Regions from separate parts of the Homo sapiens genome. Here region 2 is linked to region 1. The links are contacts of gene promoters, found by promoter capture Hi-C in human tissues and cell types (Jung and others, 2019). All regions are on one chromosome and are shown on one strand. Each heading gives the region's core, a stretch centred on a gene start or on the middle of the fragment in contact. The rest is flanking DNA. Distances are from core to core; before and after follow the strand shown.

Evidence for each region. The method cuts DNA at HindIII sites, captures the fragments that hold promoters and counts their contacts. A contact is called where the count stands out against the background at its distance.
Region 2: a contact is called between a fragment that was not itself captured here and the fragment with the promoter of ANXA7 in region 1, in 1 of the 25 tissues and cell types used here (hippocampus).

Annotation. Positions count from the first base shown.
Region 1 is chr10:73,412,718-73,415,349 of GRCh38, reverse strand. ANXA7 (annexin A7) reads left to right here and starts at 1,292. Exons shown (of 13, transcript NM_001156.5): 1 at 1,292-1,338. RefSeq lists a silencer at 1,109-1,668 and enhancers at 2,069-2,148, 2,159-2,278. The HindIII fragment of the contact is 7,160 bases long and covers 1-2,632 here.
Region 2 is chr10:73,064,665-73,067,296 of GRCh38, reverse strand. The region is part of intron 5 of P4HA1 (prolyl 4-hydroxylase subunit alpha 1); the gene reads left to right. Among named protein-coding and RNA genes, the nearest start is that of P4HA1, 31 kb to the left of the region's middle. The HindIII fragment of the contact is 5,132 bases long and covers 1-2,632 here.

The DNA of each region.
Region 1 (2,632 bases), core at 43-2,542:
TGAAAGGATGAAATGGCAAATGTCGTAGTAGACTATTGGACTATTCCTGCAGCTCAGGAAAGTGGGCTGGAAATAAGAGGTTTGGCAAATACCCTGTTATGGTGGTATTTAAGGCAGAGGGAGGGTTTGGAACGAGCTCACAAAGGGAACTCTAGAATGAACAGAGTAGGCTTCTCAGGGAAGGCTTAAATCCTGGAGGTCTCTGGGGTAGGTAGGACAGAAAGTCCTGTTATTTTCCAGGTAGACAGACTGTTGGGCGCCGGGGAATTAATGCTGGTCACCTAGAGAGTTGTGCATTTTGTCTACCATTGTTAAATGAGGCAATGACCTGCCTCAAATACTTTTCACTCCACACACCTATTTGGAAGCCACGTATATTTTGCTTGCTCTTCCCATTTAAAATCGTAATCCACTCTATTCCACCCCCATGAGGAAGCTTTTGGGTAGAAAAGTGTGTAGAGGAATAAGTAAGTTGATGTGCATCAGATGTGCAAACTTTAGTGTGCATCAGAACCACCTGGAAGGCTTGTTAAAACAGGTTGCTGGGCACCACCCGGGGAGTTTGATTCAGTAGGTCTAAGGTGGAGTTCAATAATCTGCGTTACTAACACGTTTCCAGGTGATGCTGCTGTTCGGGGGACCACACCCAGAAGCTACCTTTTACCACTCTAAAAGGTAGCTGATTGGTTTTCTCTGTAATATAAATTCCTTAACGAGTTTAAAATATTGATCTGAGCCCTCGTAATTGCCTCAAATGTTTAATGCTAATGTGTGTTCAATGCTGTAGCCACGAGGGGAGCCTAAAATCACCTAACAACTCCTTTCGGGAGTGATTTTGATTAGTTCATCTACAGTTCCAACTAAGATTTCCCACAAATATTACTTTCACAGGAGGCTAACAAAAAACGCCGTCTTTGTCCCCAGAAAATACCTGGAGGACGGTATTTCAGAGGCGGGGAGGCTGCACCAGCCTCCCAGTCTCAGCCCTTCTCTACCGCCCGCCACTGAAGGGGCCCCGGATACCCCCAGGACTGCTGCAACTTCCTAGGTGACTTGAGGCAGCCTTAAAAGGGATTGGTGCAGGGTCCTTGCGACAGATAAATGTGATTAAAAATCCGCTGGGCCACCCGAAGGGAGAGTCTTTTTCCCTCAGGTGGCGCCTAGGGGCGGGACTGAGGGACAGCCCGCTCCCCGCAGCGCCCTCTCCGGCTCCGGGGGTGTTCCCGGCTGCAGCCGCGATCCTAACGGGCTCGCGAGACGCCCCGCCCACCCTGGGCCCGCCCCCGGCTCCATCTTGCGGGAGACCGGGTTGGGCTGTGACGCTGCTGCTGGGGTCAGGTGAGGAGCGGCGCCCCCCTCCCTTTCCCACCTCGTCTGCCTCGGTGGTCTTGCCCTCGGCCAGCTCTGGGCGCTGCTGTCCCGGTGCTAGTGGGGCGCGGCTGGAGGGCAGTGTGGGCCTCCCGGATGGCGGCGACTCGGTTTGCGCGTCTCGTAGCCGGGCTGCCGGCCGGGGTGTGTTGGGGTGGCGTGGGTGAGGCGGCCGGCCTGGCTTACGGGAAGCCCTTCCGTCCGTTTGGAAATCCCAGGGACCAGTGGCGCCCCGCCCTCGGGCAGGTGGAGGGGCTGAGGCCGGAGCGTGGCCCAGCTGCCTCGCGGGAGGCTGAGTAGGGAAACGCACGGGCAGTGCTGAAAGCCGTCTGGCTGGTAGTGGCTGTACTTTCCGGTGACACAGCGAATTTAGGGAAACTTGGGGAAATTTTTACTGTGTTTAGTGAACCGTAGGACAGAATGCGCCAGGCCAAGGTCGTACACTGGTTCTCGTTTACAGTTCTTGGAAGCTATTCTAGAATAGCATTCCAGATTTGATTGCTGTTCCCCGACCAGCAGCAAATCTGTGTTGAAATTAGCTCATCCTGTGCAAACACTGCGCAAGGAAACCAAGGTGCAGAGGTAGATGGCTGATGTCCACCGTAAAGTGACAGACATGACGCTGTTGTCTTCCGACTGCCGTAAACGCCCTGATTTTTGCCAGCTGATGGCCAGCTAATCTGCTAAATGTGTCCGAATTAGATGATGAGTGTAATGAGTTACCTTCCAGGCAAGGAAAGAGTTTCAAGCACTGAATAGGTAAAAGAGATAATTTTGGCCACTGCAAACTTTCAGTCCTTTTCAGTGAGGACTGTCTTTCAGTCCTCACTGGTGGTTGGCTACCTACCTGTCCGTGCAGAGGACTAGCCATGCCTCCATGTTCTTTCTCCACATCACTGACGGATTTAAATGATCCTACCATACCTAGAAGCCGGTTTTGCAAAATTGTATTCGCTGTTGCGCGTATCTTCAGTCACCCTTCCTGTTTCGTGTATTTTTTCCCCCATAAATTTGCAACAGCTGCCTCTTGGGTTCCTGGGCTTCATGCCATCAATGAGAAACGGTGAGACCCAGCCCTTTTACTAACTGACTCACTGGGTGGAGGTGGTTTGGAAAACCAAAAATGATTTTCTAGTCTTTTAAAAGTGATTGCTAACAGAGAATGTTTAAAAAAAAAAAAAAAAAAGCCCGAGCGCGGTGGCTCACTCCTGTAATCCTAGCACTTTGGGAGGCCGAGGCGAGAGATTCACGAGGTCAGGAGGAG
Region 2 (2,632 bases), core at 34-2,533, 350 kb after region 1:
TATTTAAGTAAGAGGTGGTAGTGGATAGATTATCAAGCTACTTATTAGAGTAGAATAGTAGAATTTGATGATGTACTTGATAGGAATTTCTGGCTTCATCAACTGGATAGATTCCATTTAACAAAATAGGGCTGGCATGGTGGCTCATGCCTGTAATCCCAGCACTTTGGGAGGCTAAGGTGGAAAGGATCCCTTGAGGGTAGGAGTTCAAGACCAGCCTGGGCAGCATAGCAATTCCCTGACTCTACAAAAAAATGAAAACTTAGCTGGGTGTTGTGGTGCTTGCTTGTAGTCCTAGCTATTTGGGAGGCTGAGGTGGGATGTATTCACACTGCTATGAAGAAATACCCAAGACTGGGTAAGTTATTTTAAAAAAGAGGTTTAATTGACTCACAGTTCCGCATGGCTACGGATGTCTTAGGAAACTCACAATCATGGCAGAAGGCACTTCTTCACAGGGTGGCAGGAAAGAGAATGAGGGCCAGCAGGGGAAATGCCAGGTGCTTATAAAACCATCCTATCTCATGAGAACTCACTGTCACAAGAACAGCATGGGGGAACTGCCCCCATGATGCAGTTATCTCCACCTTGTCCCGCCCTTGATAGGTGGGGATTATTAAAATTCAAGGTGATATTTGGGTGTGAACACAGAGCCAAACCATATCACGGGAGGATCACTTGAGCCCAGGAGTTCAAGGCTGCAGTGAGCTGTGATCACGCCACTACACTCCAACCTGGGCAACAGAGTGAGACCCCTATCTCAAAAAACAAAAAGCAAAAAAGAAAACATCCCACCTCAGCCTCCCAAATGTGTGGTGGTGGGTAATAAATGTTATTTAGATTACTATATGTGTTTTGTTTAAAAAATGATTATATTCCCATCAAAATGGTCCTGAATATTATTTAACCCTGATTTCACTGTGTTTAGTCTTAGGGGCAATATTCATTCTTTCTCAGGTGCTTTTTATCTCCTTGTTGACTTTTTTCCTCTTTTATCACAGTTTTGGGCTAGTTCTTATTGACTTTTCTTTCAGGCAAATTCCTTATAAGTAGAATAACTGAAATTTCCTAATCACATTATACCCTATAAGTGGTAAAAATAATAGCATGAATACTAGCATAAGAGTTTTTAGGCTCCCCCAACCCAGATTATTTTCTGTTGTTAATAGTCAAATATCACAAATGTGTTCGAAGGCTTCTTGTGCACCTTCCCTTGTTTAGAGGTAATGACTATTCTGAACTTGGTGCGTATCCTGTCATCTTTTTATACTTTATCATATATATTTTCCATTGTATTGTGTTTTTAAATTTTATGTCAATAGTACATCATACTCTATGTATCTTTCTACAACCTTTTTTTAACCTAATATTTTCAGTAAATTTATCTGTGTTGATCAGATTCATCTAACTGCTAATGTGGTATTGTATAACATTATTTATTCATTCTTCTGTGGATGGATGTACATTTAGATTTTGTCCAATTTTTTGCTTTATCAAATGAAGTTTGATACATCTTTGTTGATTTCTTTTTGTGGCCATGTACTCACGTGCAAGGCTTTCTCTTAGGGTATAAGAAATCATAGGGTATTTGGTTTTTCATCATACTTACCAGATGTGGCCAGATTGCTTTCCAGAGCATGTATTTATACTGTCACCAGCATTGTATGAGAGTTCCCATTTCTTCATATCCTTGCCAGCTCTTGGTTTTGTCAGACTTTAAAAATTTTAGCAATCTGGGTGTGAAATGGTGGGGGTGAGGGAGGAAGGATGCATGTATTTTAAATTTTCTTCAAACAAAAAAGTCAGAGAAATGCTTAGTGAATTTATATTGATGCCACATCACTCCTTGATTAGTTTCATCTGTTTCTTTTGCCTCTTTGGGCCTATCTTTTGAAATGCTTTGTTGGTATTTTAATGAAAAATCTGATAGGTTACATGCATTTTGACATCAGTGTTGTCCTTATAGTTCTTAAGGACTTCCTTCAGTTTTCAGATTGTTTGTTCCCAACCCTGATTTGTTGAATAGATCCATATCTGCCAAAGATATCATGCTTTTTTTTAAGCTGTGATTTTTTTTAGGGGGTGGGGGTCAGTAATAGAAAATGTCATATGTACAAAATTCAATTTGCTTCATGTGGAAGTTGAATGTTCACCCTTCTGGTCACTTGCATCACTGTCTTGGTAAGTTAATAAGGTAACTATAGCAAACAGTAGATTCTCCAGACATCTCTGGAGCTCACTCAGCTATCAGTGTACCACACTGCCTCAGAGGTGGGACATTAACTTCTAAGTGTGTGCATTTTAAACATAATTATCCCTTACAAATTAAGTTTTGATCCATTAAGTGTTCTTGTGAAGTGCAAGAATTTTTGGATTACGTGTCTCTCTCAGTTTAACGGATGATGTCTCTCTCAGTTTAACGGATGAACCATAAAAATCGATTTCTTTTTCTTTTTTGACATGGAGTCTCACTCTGTTACCCAGGCTGGAGTGCAGTGGCGCAGCTCGGCTCACTGCAACCTCTGCCTCCTGGGTTCAAGCGATTCTCTTGCCTCAGCCTCCCAAGTAGCTGGGATTACAGGTGCCCACCACCATGTCCAGCTAATTTTGTTATTTTTAGTAGAGATGAGGT